Linked DNA regions of Homo sapiens: all the other regions are linked to region 1. The links are contacts of gene promoters, found by promoter capture Hi-C in human tissues and cell types (Jung and others, 2019). All regions are on one chromosome and are shown on one strand. Each heading gives the region's core, a stretch centred on a gene start or on the middle of the fragment in contact. The rest is flanking DNA. Distances are from core to core; before and after follow the strand shown.

Region 1 (2,700 bases), core at 144-2,643:
ACGATGACACAAGCCTGTAATCCCAGCACTTTGGGAGGCCGAGGCAGGCAGGTGGATCGCCTGAAGTCTGGAGTTCGAGACCAGCCTGACCAACATAGAGAAACCCTGTCTCTACTAAAATTACAAAAAATTAGCCGGGCGTGATGGCGCATGCATGTAATCCCAGCTACTCGGGAGGCTGAGGCAGGAGAATCGCTTGAACCTGGGAGTCGGAGGTTGCAGTGAGCTGAGATCGCGCCATTGCACTCCAACCCGGGCAATAAGAGCGAAACTCCGTTTCCAAAACAAAAAAAAAATTTCTAAGCCTTCCTCAACTGTCCCTAGTTAGCCTATAATCAGCACATTTTTCAGCACACAAGGGTTAAGCGACTTGTTGAACTAGCTAATAAATCAGTCTACTACTCCAAAACGCATCTGTAGAACCTAACATAGTGCCTGGAAAATAGTTGGCGTTTAACAAACAACTGCCAGAATAAATTTTTTAAAAAATACACATTTAACACTCTTTAAAAACATAAAAGGTACCAGCCTGGGCAACATGGCGAAACCCCGTCTCTACTAAAAGTACAAAAACTTAGCCGGGTGTGGTGGCGCGCACCTGTGGTCCCAGCTACTCTGGAGCCCGGGAGGTCCAGGCTGCAGTGAGCTGAGATTGCGCCACTGCACTCCAGCCTGGGCGACGGCACTGAGACCCTGTCTCAAAAACAAAAAACATAAACATTTTGGGCAGGGTGCGGTGGCTCACGCCTGTAATCCCAGCATTTTGGGAAGCCGAGGCGGGCGGATCACCTGAGGTCAGGAGTTCGAGACCAACCTGGCCAACATGGTGAAACCCCATCTCTACTAAAAATACAAAAAAAAAAAAAAAAAAAAAATAGCCGCGCGTGGTGGTGGGCGCCTGTCATCCCAGCTACCCAGGAGGCGGAAGTTGCAGTGAGCCAAGATCGCGCCACTGCACTCCAGCCGGACGACAGAGCGAGACTCCGTCTCAAAAAAAATAAAAATAAAAATAAAAATAAACATTTTGGCATTGAAAACATACACGCAAGAGTGAATTTAACATCTGTTTAAAAGTCTCTCACAATCCCAGGAAGGCGACTACTTCCGCTTCTACTTTCAGCAGCGTTTCAGCCCCGCTATAGCGGCGCGGCTTCACAAAACACCTGCGATCGTAGAAGGTTTCGCCCCACCTTCTGCATACGCAGCTTGAGGCGCCCGCTTTCCGTCGCTCCGGCCCGCCTCGCCGCAAGGCTTTCTGGGAGCCGTAGTCCCCACGTCTGGCCTCTCCGGCGCCAGCGGCAGCGCGCGCCCACCCGCGGAACTACAGAGCGTGGCGCACAGCGCGCGAGGCTCCTCCGCCTCGCCTTCCCTCCCCGCCCGCGCGCCCGCCCCAGTTATCATGGCGGCTCCCTTGGTCCTGGTGCTGGTGGTGGCTGTGACAGTGCGGGCGGCCTTGTTCCGCTCCAGTCTGGCCGAGTTCATTTCCGAGCGGGTGGAGGTGGTGTCCCCACTGAGCTCTTGGAAGAGAGGTGAGGCCACTGGCTCGAGCAGACTGTCAGGCCCCACCTGCCCTCCCGCGGCCTCTGTGAATGGGAGGCGGGGGCAGTGACCGCCAGCGCGCGGTTCCTAGAGAACTAACTGACTGTCTCGTGGGGTTCTTGGAGAGGGCGGGGCCTGAGGGCGGGGCTGGTGAGGGGAGGGGGCGTGGGGACCGGGGCGTGGGGACAGTGTCGTGAGGTTTGGGCCCTGGGGGCCGGACCACCTAGTGGTGGGGATCTGAGGGGGCGTGTCCCATTCAGTGTCCTGAGCCGAGGAGTGTGGTCTGTGGGAAGGGTTGGAATAAGAGGAGGAGGTGCTTGTGGAGCGCGGCTTGCAGAGGAGTTTGGGATTTGGGGCGGGATCGCCAGGGGTGCTCCCTGGGATAAAAGGTTATGTGTGAGGGGGTCCGGGATGAGGGGACCAATTTTGCTTAAGCGAGGAGAGTGTGCGTGTGCTTTAGACGTCTCTTCTCAGTCTGGGACTTGCAGGGCAATTTTTGTTACTGTTCCTTACTAAGTTCTTCACCGAACATTGTTTTATACTAACGCCTACAGCGAGAAAGCGAAGTTGGCCTGAAGTAGCTGCACAGGCTAGTGAGGGAGACAAATCGTTATAATAATTCATGAAAAGTATACTTTATGTGTCCACCCAGTTCCTTCCTTAGTATTCTGACCCTGAATAAACTATCCCCTACCTTTCCAGTTTTCCAGAATGTGGGATTTGAGCTGACTCTTGAAGGATGTAGGGTTTTGAAAGGGAGATTAGAGAAAAGGAGAGTTCCAGGTAGCAGAAAGTAAATAGGATGAAGAAACGTTCAAGGATGTGAAATGTCCAAAGCAGGGGAGTAATGGGGTGGAAGCTAGGTTTAGGCCAGAGTTTGATGATTAAAAAAAAACAAACAACTTTTTTTTTTTTTTTTTTACTGAAGTACAGTATACATACAATGCATATTAAGTAAGTGTAGAGTTCAATGAATTTTTAAAAACTGTATTCACTCATGTAGCCAGCACCTAGTTCAAGAAACAGTATCAGCACCCCAGAAGTCCCCTTTGTGTCCTTTAAATGCTAAAGTTTTTTTGTTTTTGTTTTTGTTTTTTGTTTAGAGACAGGGTCTTTCTATGTTGCCCAGGCTGGTCTGGAACTCCTGGACTCAAGCAGTCT
Region 2 (2,700 bases), core at 27-2,526, 500 kb after region 1:
CACTGCAACCTCTGACCTCTGCCACCCAGGTTCAAGTGATTCTCCTGCCTCAGCTTCCCAAGTGGCTGGGACTACAGGCACATGCCACCATGCCCAGCTAATTTTTGTATTGTTTAATAGAGACGGGGTTTTACCGTGTTGGCCAGCATGGTCTCAATCTCTTGACCTCGTGATCCTCCTGCCTCGGCCTCCCAAAGTGCTGGGATTACAGGCATGAGCCACCATGCCCGGCCTTCTCTCTTCTATATTTACCTTCTTTGTGGAAATAGAACACTTTGGCTAAGCTCTTCAGTCTTGTTTTTTCTATTGTTCTTTTCTCCCTTCCCTCCTCCTGCCTTCCACACCCCTTCTCAAATTCCACTCTATTTCCTTTTTCAGCCCAACACTGCAGTGAAAAAGAGACAGTCTGTCGTCTTCCAGGAGCTTAGAGATTAGTGGGGGCCACAGATTAATAAACCAAGGAAGAGAAGGACATTTCCAGACAGACAATAGCATATGTAAAGGCATAGAGGCCAGAGCAGTACAGCTCTTTCCACGAACTGTACCATGTGGTTAGAGGACTGGGAACAGATGTGGAGGATAGGGTGCCGAGATTGGAGAGAGTGAAAAGGGTCACATATGCCATGCTAACAAAGCTTTACTTGCAGTGCTAAGAGCCTGGATTTTAGTCAATGGTCAGTGAAGAGTTCTCTAACAGTGGTGAAGAGGAAAAGACTGGTGGGGAATTATATTAGAGGCAGGGCAATTAGTTGGAGATTATTGTAAAAGTTCAGCTAAGAAATGAAGAGGACCTAACCTAAGGCACTGGAGATGAAGAAGATTTTTTTCTTTAACAATAGCTTTAAGCAAATTGATTATAAAGTTCCTTGGTGTCATTTTCTTCATGCTTCCCATGTAGGGTTTGTTGAACTTCTTGGGTCTATGGGTTTATAGTTTTCATCAAATTTGAAAAATTTTGGGTCTTTATCTGCTCATTACTATTTGGTCATTATTTCTTTTTTTTCTGTACCCTCCCTTCTCCTTTGGGGTCTCTAATTACACATATATTAGGCCACCTGATGTTGTCTCAAGGCTCGCTGATGTGCTCTTTTTAAAGTCTTTTTTCTCTATGTGTTTCATTTCTTATTGTTTTTATAGCTATGTCTTCAAGTTATTTAGTCTTTCCTTTGGCAATGTTTAATTTGCTGTTAATCTTATCCATTGTATTTTTCATATCAAATACCATATTTTTCATCTCTAGAAGTTAGACTTAGATCTTTTAAAATAACTTCCATGACTCTACTTATCATTTTCAATCTTTCCTCTAGCTTCTTGAACATGTGGAATACAGTTATAAGAACTGTTTTAATGTCTCTGTCTACCAATTCTATCTTCTGTATAATTCTTGATCTGTTTTATTGATTTGATTTTTCTCCTCATTATGGATCACATTTTCCTGTTTCTTTGCAGGCCTGATAACTTTTTTTGAATGTCAGACATAGTGAATTTTATCTTGTTGGGGCTGGTACTCTGAGGATTGTTCCTTCTGCTCTTTTCTGGTGCTACTTTCTCCAGCCTCAGGTAGTTTCTTCAAACTTCTGTTCTGATCAGCACTAATTTCAGGAGGGGGACTAGAGAATAGGAAACAGGGGTAAAAGTCCAGGAAGTAAGTACGCTTAACTTTCTGAATTTCTCATATTGTTAGGCTAACAGAATTAAGTCTCGCTAGGATTCTTGGTAGATCTTAAGGAAATACTGCCATGCTGTAAAAGGACTGAAAAAAGATCAAACTTTAAGAATAGGTCACAGCCTATGATGAGAAGGGTCAAAAGTCAATTCATAAATAAATGACCCAGGAAGTCCCTGGATTGTTCTCTCTACTCTAGAGTCCTTTCTTTATTTGCACGACTAGGTGCTAACTTTGTTCCAGGTCTAAAACGTTTACCTCCTAATTCTAAGGGTGATGATCTTATCAACTCTAATCCTATCTTAAGGGACCAATTTGATTTTTGTATCTCACTGTATGAGTCAGAGAAAAAAGATTTTCTTTGTACATTTGAAAAGTTATTTGTGATTAAGACGTTACTGCTAAGCCCATATTTTTGATAACTCGCCAGGGATAGATTCTATTGACAATTATGAGTGTATGATGCCTTAATTTGTAACTTTTTTTTTTGAGATGGAGTCTCAAAGTCTCCCAGGCTGGAGTGCAGTGGCACGATCTGGGCTCACTGCAAGCTCCGCCTCCCGGTTTCACGCGATTCTCCTGCCTCAGCCTCCCAAGTAGCTGGGACTACAGGCGCCTGCCACCATGTCTGGCTAATTTTTTGTATTTTTAGTAGAGACGGGGTTTCACCGTGTTAGCCAGGATGGTCTCGATCTCCTGACCTCGTGATCCGCCTGCCTCGGCCTCCCAAAGTGCTGGGATTACAGGCAATGAGCCACTGCACCCAGCCAACTTTTTATTTAAGGATGAAAGTGTGGGAAAATGTAAGCTGTTCCTGGAATATGATGAATATACTTTTCAAATCAACACACTCTTTCAGAGACGTTTTTCTTTACATAGAAGAGCAACTAGGCAGCCCTAGCACATTTTAAGAAAAGGGTTTAATAGCAGAAGCTCCAAGACTACCCCAAAGTAGTCAGATTCCAGCAAATCTTAGGAGGGAGGACAAGCCAAGGCATCTTCAAACAACAAAAACTGTAAATCAAAAAAGTGTC
Region 3 (2,700 bases), core at 169-2,668, 330 kb after region 1:
GTGTTACCCATGGAGGGGTCCATGTGACGTTGTTCTGGATTCCCATTGTAACTTCAAGGGAAACTTTCACAATGTCCAGAGCCCTTGATGTCCTGCCAATGAAGAAAGAGGATGTCTTCAAGTTCCTTGTAGCAGGATAGCAGGAACCCACTTAGGTGGCATCAGCCTTGACTTCCAAATGGAACAGCACTTTTTTTTTGGAGACAGTCCAGCTCTGTCACCCAGGCTGGAATGCAGTGATGCGATCTCAGCTACTGCAACCTCCGCCTCCTGGGTTCAAGCGATTCTCCTGCCTCAGCCTCCCTAGTAGCTGAGATTACAGGTGCCTGCCACCATGCCCAGCTAATTTTTGTATTTTTAGTAGAGATGGGGTTTCACTGTGTTGGCCAGGCTGGTCTCGAACTCCTGACCTCATGATCTGCCCACCTCGGCCTCCCAAGTGCTGGGATTACAGGCGTGAGCCACTGCGCTCGGCCACTTTTTTTTTTTTTTTGAGACAAAGTCACACTTTTGGCCAGGCTGGAGTGCAGTGGCGCCATATCGGCTCACTGCAATCTCTGCCTCCTGGATTCAAGCGATCCTCCTGCCTCAGCCTCCCAAGTACCTGGGATTACAGGCACACGCCACCATGCCTGGCTAATTTTTGTATTTTTAGTAAAGATAGGGTTTCACCATGCTGGCCAGGCTGGTCTCAAATTCCTGACCTCGTGATCAGCCCACTTCGGCCTCCCAAAGTGCTGGGATTGCAGGCGTGAGCCACTGAGCCCAGCAACTTTTGTATTTTTAGTAGAGGTAGGTTTTACCATGTTGACCAGGCTGGTTTCCAACTCCTGACTTCAAGTGATCTACCTGCCTTGGCCTCCCAAAGTGCTGGGAATACAGGCGTGAGCCACTGAGCCCAGCCCTAGAGCTAGCATTTAATCCAACTTGGGGGATAAGGGAAGTATCTAAAGCAATAAGAATATATTTTGTTGGCTGGGCGCAGTGGCTCATGCCTGTAATCCCAGCACTTTGGTAGGCCGAGGCAGGCGGATCATGACATCAGGAGATCGAGACCAGCCTGGCCAATGTGGTGAAACCCCGTCTCTACTAAAAACACAAAAAATTAGCCGGGTGCGGTGGCATATGCCTGCAGTCCCAGCTACTCAGGAGGCTGAGGCAGGAGAATTGCTTAAACCTAGGAAGCGGAGGTTGCAGTGAGCCGAGATTGCATCACTGCACTCCAGCCTGGGCAATAGAGCGAGACTCTGTCTCAAAAAAAAAAAATCTTTTGTTAAAATATTTGGCCTTTTGTCCTAGATCTTTGAAACCCCTCTTGGAATAGCTTCAGTGCCAGAAGGTGAAAGATAAAAATATTGTTATTTAAAACAATCCCTTTTCAAACACACTTGAGTTTATATTTTGTTTTGTTTTGAGAGGGAGTCTCGCTCTGTCACCAGGCTGGAATGCAGTGGTGCGATCTCCACTCACTGCAACCTCTGCCTCCCTGGTTAAAGAGATTCTTGTGCCTCAGCCTCCTGAGTAGCTGGGATTACAGGCACGTGCCACCACACCTGGCTAGTTTTTTGTTTTTTTTTTTTTTTTTTTTTTTTTAGTAGAGACGGGGTTGCACCATGTTGGCCAGGATGGTCTCAATCTCCTCACCTCATGATCCGCCCGCCTTGGTCTCCCAAAGTGCTGAGATTACAGGTGTGAGACACAGCGCCCGGCAGAATTTATGTTAATGACAGGATTCGGGGAAAGTTCCAAGATAACCACAGGATGGGAGAGTGGCTGCCAGAGGATCCAACCATTAGTTCAAAGGGTTGAAACTTTCAGCCCCACCCCCAACCTCCAGGGAGGGTCTCTAAGTGAAGTTAATCACCAATGGCCAATTATTTATCAATCATGCTTACCTAATGATGCTTTTTTTTTTGAGACAAGAGTCTCACTCTGTTTCCCAGGCTGGAGTGCAATGGCGTGATCTCAGCTCACTGCAATCTCCACCTCCAAGGTTCAAGCAATTCTTGTGCCTCAATCTCCCAAGTAGTTGGGACTACAGGCACCTGCCACCACAACCAGCTAATTTTTGTATTTTTAATATAGATGGGGTTTCACCGTGTTGGCCAGGCTGGTCTCGAATTCCCGACCTTAGGTGGTCTACCTGCCTAGGCCTCCCAAAGTGCTGGGATTACAGGTGTGAGCCTCTGGGCCCAGCCTGACGCTTCCATTATAAACCAAAGCGACTGGGTTCAGAGAGCTTCTAAATAGCTGAACACCTGTAGGCTTCCAGGAAGGTGAATGAGAGCACATCCACACGCAGGAGGAGGAGGTGACACCCCATCTCCATAGGGATAAAAGCTCCCGTGCTCCAGACCCTTTCAGACTTTACCCTTTGTTCTCTCCATCTGGCTGTTTATTTGTAGCGTTTGTAATGTATATGTTTCCCTGAGTTCTGTAAGTCCCTCTACCAAATTAATGGAACCCAGGGAGGGAGTTGTGGGAATCCTGATTTATGGCTGGTTAGTTTGAAGTTCTGGAGGCCTGGACTTATTACTGGCATCTGAAGTGAGGATAGTCTTGGGGACTGAGCACTCAACCTATGGGACCTGGTGTTATTTTCAGGTGGATAGTATCAGAGTTTATTTGGACTAGAAAACACCCAGCTGGTGTCCACTGCAGAACTGACTGATTGCCTGATGTGTGGGGAAAACCCCTATA
Region 4 (2,742 bases), core at 238-2,737, 470 kb after region 1:
TCAGCACTCTGTGTCTAGCTAAAGGTTTGTAAATGCACCAATCAGCGCTCTGTGTCTAGCTAATTGGGTGGGGACTTGGAGAACTTTTTTGTCTAGCTAAAGTATTGTAAATGCACCAATCAACACTCTGTGTCTAGCTAAAGGATTGTAAAAGCACCAATCAGCACTCTGTAAAACGGCAAAATCAGCGCTCTGTAAAATGGAGAAATCAGCGCTCTGTAAAATAGACCAAGCGACAGGATGTGGGTGGGGCCAAATAAGGGAATAAAAGCAGGCAACCAGAGCCAGTAGCAGCAACCCGTTTGGGTCCCCTTCCACGCTGTGGAAGCTTTGTTCTTTCGCTCTTCGCAATAAATCTTGCTGCTGCTCACCCTTTGGGTCTGCACTACCTTTATAAGCTGTAACACTCACCGAGAAGGTCTGCAGCTTCACTCCTGAAGCCAGCGAGACCACGAGCCCAGCGGGAGGAATGAACAACTCCGGATGCGCCGCCTCTATGAGCTGTAACACTCACCACGAAGGTCTGCAGCTTCACTCCTGAAGCCAGTGAGACCACAAACCCATTGGGAGGAATGAACAGCTCTGGACGTGATGCCTTTAAGAGCTGTAACACTCACTGTGAAGGTCTGCAGCTTCACTCCTGAAGTCGGCAAGACCACGAACCCACCAGAAGGAAGAAACTCCGGACACATCTGAACAACTGAAGGAACAAACTCCGGACACACCATCTTTAAGAACTGTAACACTCACCGTGAGGGTCCATGGCTTCATTCTTGAAGTCAGCGAGACCAAGAACCCACCAATTCCAGGCACACTTGTACTTGGTAGCACAATAGGGTGAGTATAATTAAGTATAATTTATTGTACCTTTCAAAATAACTAGAAGAGTAGATTTGGAATGTTCCCAACACAAATAAATGATAAATGCTTGAGGTGATGGATATTCCATTATCCTGATTTGATCATTACACATTATATGCTTGTATCAAAGTATCACATGTACCACATAAATTGTACAACTATTACCTATCCATAAAAATAGAAAATAAATAAAATGAATAAAGTGTAAAAATCACAGGCTCATTTTAACTGATGAGAAAAATACATTTCATAAAATTCACCATCTGTTAATGTTTAAAAATTATATCAAACTAGAATTAGAAGAAAAATTCCTCAATCTGATAAAGAGTAACTACAAAAAGTAAACTCCAGCAACCATCATATTTAACTGAAATTATTGAGTGCTTTCTTTCTATCAGAACTAAGATAAGGATGCCTGCTATTTTCACTTTTATTCATCATTGTTCTTAAGGTTTTACCCAGTCCAATAATTCAAGAAAAAGAAGTTAAAAAACGGGCCAGGAGCAGTGGCTCACACCTGTAATCCCAGCACTTTGGGAGGCCAAAGTGGGTAGATCACCTGAGGTCAGGAGTTCAAGATCAGCCTAACCAACATGGAGAAACCCCATTTTTACTAAAAATACAAAATTAGCCAGCATGGTGGCGTGTGCCTATAATCCCAGCTACTCGGAAGGCTGAGGCAGGAGAATCGCTTTAACCCACGAGGCGGAGGTTGCGGCGAGCCAAGATTGCACCATTGCACTCCAGCCTGGACAACAAGTGCAAAACTCCGTCTCAAAAAAAAAAAAAAATTAAAAAAATAACTATCTGAAAGAAATCACTACACACACTACACATACTACATGATTGTGAATCTATAAATAAACTATAAGAATTATTAAGTTAATTAAGCAGGGTTGCTGTATGCAAGTATAAATACAAAATTTTAATTATTATGTCAATATGCCAGCATCAAACAACTAAAAATGAACATTAAAATATGCCATTTATGGCCGGGCGTGGTGGCTCACGCCTGTAATCCCAGAACTTTGAGGCCAAGGCAGGTGGATCACCTGAGGTCAGGAGTTCGAGACCAGCCTGGCCAACATGGTGAAACAACCCCATCTCTACTAAAAATACAAAATTAGCCGGGTATGGTGGCGTGTGCCTGTAATCCCAGCTACTTGGGAGGCTAAGGCAGGAAAATTGCTTGAACCTAGGAGGCAGAGGTTGCAGTGAGGCAGGATCGTGCCATTGCACTCCAGCCTGGGCAAAAAAGAGCGAAACTCCATCTCAAAAAATAAATAAATAAATAAAATTAAAATACGCCACTTATAAGGCTGGGTGCATTGGCTCATGCCTGTAATCTCAGCACTTTGGGAGGCCGAGGTGGGAGGATCACTTGAAGTTAGGCGTTCGAGACCAGCCAGGCCAACGTGGCGAAACCCTGTCTCTACAATAATGCAAAGATTAGCCACGTGTGGTGGCAGGTGCCTGTAATCCCAGCTCCTTGGGAGGCTGAGGCATGAGAATCACTTGAACCCAGGAGGCAGAGGTTGCAGTGTGCCAAAATCATGCCACTGCACTCCAGCTTGAGTGACAGAGTGAAACCGTGTCTCAAAAAATATATATATAATATACATATATATATGCCACTTATAAAATAAATAGAAAATAATTGGGAATAAATCCAATGAATAATATACCAGGTTTCTACATAGAAAACTATAAAACATCAAAAAATTTTAATAAGACTTCAACTAGTGAAGGGATATACCATATTCATGGATAAAAAAATTTAATATTGTAAAGACTTTCATATTAATTGATGGACAGATTTAATGTAATCCCAATAAAAATTCCAGCAGGGTTTTTTTTGGTAGAATTTATAAAGTTATCCTA
Region 5 (2,728 bases), core at 106-2,605, 350 kb after region 1:
CACAGTTCCTGGCCCTTAGTAGTGTTAAAAGAAAAACTAGCTGAATTAAACGTAAAAGAGTTTAATTGAGCAAAGAATGGGCAGCCTCCCAAGCCAGTGTAGGCTCAGAGACTCCCACGCAGCTGTCACTGGAAAGGGGTCCTAATCTAGCTAGACTCCAAGAGACGGTTCTTGGACCTCACGCAACAAAGAATTCAGGGCAAGTCCACAAAGTGAAAAGTTTATTAAGAAAGTAAAGGAATAGGGCCGGGTGCGGTGGCTCACGCCTGTAATCCCAGCACTTTGGGAGGCTGAGGCAGGCGGATCAAGAGGTCAGGAGATTAAGACCATCCTGGCTAACACAGCGAAAGCCCGTCTCCACTAAAAATACAAAAAATTATCCAGCCGTGGTGGCATGCACCTGTAATCACAGCTACTCAGGAGGCTGAGGCAGGAGAATTGCTTGAACCTGTGGGGCAGAGGTTGCAGTGAGCCGAGATCGCGCCACTGCACTCCCGCCTGAGCGACAGAGTAAGACTTGTCTCAGAAAAAAAAAAAAGAAAGTAAAGGAATAAAAGAGTGGCTACTCCATAGGCAGAGCAGCAGCATGGGCTGCTCAACTGATTATACTTATCATTATTTCTTGACCATATGCTAAACAAAGGGTGGATTATTCATGAGTTTCCTGGGAAAGGGTTGTGCAATTCCTGGAAGTGAAGTTTCCTTCCCTTATAGAGTAACTTCCAGCTGTTGCCATGCATCTGTAAACTGTCGTGGCACTGGCGAGACTGTTTCTTAGCATGCTAATGCATTATAATTAGCGTATAATGAACAGTGAGGACGACCAGAGGGCACTTTCATGTCATCTTGGTTTTTGGTGGGTTTTGGCTGGCTTCTTTACTGTATCCTGTTTTATCAGCAAGGTCTTTGTAACCTGTATCTTATGCTGACCTATCTCATCCTGTGACTTAGAATGCCTAACTTCCTGGAATGCAGCTCAGCAGGGTCTCAGCCTTATTTTACCCAGCCCCTATTCAAGATGGTGTTGCTCTGGTTCGACCTATGAGTATAGCCTATGACACAGCCACGTGGTGGAAGAAGATTTATGAACAGAAAAAGGAAAATGTTGTTTCTGTAGAAACAACCAGATTGGTTATAGCATGGCGTTTTTGTCTTATTTGAACACGGTTTGAATAGCTGGCCACACCTGATTGGCAAAACTCGGTGACTGGCACAAGAGTAGGCTGCAGTCTGTTTACAATTCCATTTAGGTTATAGTTCACAATGTACAGAGAAACCTTTAGGCTGAACTTCAAAATATGTGAGGAGTCAGGTTTAGGCTAAACTTCACTTAAAAGTCAGTACTGAGTAAATGTTTGTTGTATGAATGAACGAATTAACCACTAATTATGATGGGGATGAGGAGGAAGAAGGCCCAGATGTGCAGCTGTCATCTAAACTAAGAAGGCAACTGTGCGTGGGAAGCACTTGACCCTAATAGGGTCCCTGGCTCCTTGCCTGAGTGAGATTAGGAACTTCAGAAAAGCTTTTCTCCACACCCCTCCACCTGGCTCGCCTCATCTTCCCAGCTGGTCACAGTACCCAGAGGTTCATTTGCTTTGAACATCTCTGTAAAGCTCTGAAAGTGTTCTTTGTTTCGACATTTTCTCATTTTTTGCAAGTATCAGGCATGGACAAGCACCTTCTGGAAAACACATAACACTCATACACACATACACACTCAATCTAACACACATGCTTGGCCATATCTCATATTCTTATAACCCTCACCAGCTAACTTACCCACACACAGTCCTAATTATGCACAGTTGTAGACACACATGCTTACACTTGACCTCAAGGTCTCACTCCTCTGTCCCACACACTCACAGACATCCATAGTGTTACAGGAAAGGGGTCCCGATCCAGACCCCAAAGAGGGTTCTTTGATCTCACGCAAGAAAAAATTCAGGGCAAGCCCATAAAGTGAAAACAAGTTTATTAGGAAAGTAAAAGAATAAAAGAATGACTACTCCATAGGCAGAGCAGCCCCAATGGCCGCTGGTTGCCCATTTTTATGGTTATTTCTTGATTATATGCTAAACAAGGGGTGGATGATTCATCCCTCCCCTTTTAGACCTTATAGGATAACCTCCTAACATTGCAAAGGCATTTGTAAACTGTCATGGCTGCAGTGGGAATGTAGCAGTGAGGACGACCAGAGGTTACTCTCGTGGCCATCTTGGCTTTGGTGGGTTTTGGTGGCTTCTTTACTGCAACCTGTTTTATTAGCAAGGTATTTATGACCTGCATTTTGTGCAGATCTCCTATGTTATTCTGTGACTTAGAATGCTTTAAACCTGCCAATCACGGTGGCTCACACCTGTAATCCCAGCACTTTGTGAGGCCAAAGCAGGCAGATCACCTGAGGTCAGGAGTTCGAGACCAGGCTGGCCAACATGGTGAGACCCCCAGTCTGTACTAAAAGTACAAAAAATTAGCCAAGCGTGGTGGTGCACACCTGTAATCCCAGTTACTTGGGAGGCTGAGGCAGGAGAATCGCTTGAACCTGGGAGGTGGAGTTGTAGTGAGCCGAGATCACGCCATTGCACTCCAGCCTGGGTGACAAAAGAGAAACTCCACCTCAAAAAAAAAAAAAAAAAAAAAAAAGAATGCCTTAAACCATCTGGGAATGCAGCCCAGCAGGTCTCAGCCTCTCATTTTACCCATTTCCTCTTTAAGATGGAGT

What was found. Contacts are between HindIII fragments. The study calls those that stand out against the background at their distance.
Region 2: a contact is called between a fragment that was not itself captured here and the fragment with the promoter of PIGU in region 1, in 2 of the 25 tissues and cell types used here (IMR-90 fibroblasts and dorsolateral prefrontal cortex).
Region 3: a fragment that was not itself captured here is called in contact with the fragment with the promoter of PIGU in region 1 in 3 of the 25 tissues and cell types used here (dorsolateral prefrontal cortex, hippocampus and spleen).
Region 4: a fragment that was not itself captured here is called in contact with the fragment with the promoter of PIGU in region 1 in 1 of the 25 tissues and cell types used here (mesendoderm cells).
Region 5: a contact is called between a fragment that was not itself captured here and the fragment with the promoter of PIGU in region 1, in 1 of the 25 tissues and cell types used here (mesenchymal stem cells).

What each region holds. Positions count from the first base shown.
Region 1 is chr20:34,675,785-34,678,484 of GRCh38, reverse strand. It overlaps PIGU (phosphatidylinositol glycan anchor biosynthesis class U), which reads left to right and starts at 1,393. Exons shown (of 12, transcript NM_080476.5): 1 at 1,393-1,529. The coding sequence starts at 1,400. RefSeq lists enhancers at 153-1,038, 1,039-1,925 and silencers at 1,324-1,433, 1,674-1,773. The HindIII fragment of the contact is 20,123 bases long and covers 1-2,700 here.
Region 2 is chr20:34,173,151-34,175,850 of GRCh38, reverse strand. No RefSeq gene overlaps it. Among named protein-coding and RNA genes, the nearest start is that of EIF2S2, 62 kb to the right of the region's middle. The HindIII fragment of the contact is 6,088 bases long and covers 1-2,700 here.
Region 3 is chr20:34,345,157-34,347,856 of GRCh38, reverse strand. No RefSeq gene overlaps it. Among named protein-coding and RNA genes, the nearest start is that of ITCH, 17 kb to the left of the region's middle. The HindIII fragment of the contact is 6,422 bases long and covers 1-2,700 here.
Region 4 is chr20:34,203,133-34,205,874 of GRCh38, reverse strand. It overlaps a transcript of ASIP not described here. Among named protein-coding and RNA genes, the nearest start is that of ASIP, 37 kb to the left of the region's middle. The HindIII fragment of the contact is 6,854 bases long and covers 1-2,742 here.
Region 5 is chr20:34,321,227-34,323,954 of GRCh38, reverse strand. No RefSeq gene overlaps it. Among named protein-coding and RNA genes, the nearest start is that of AHCY, 19 kb to the right of the region's middle. The HindIII fragment of the contact is 4,210 bases long and covers 1-2,728 here.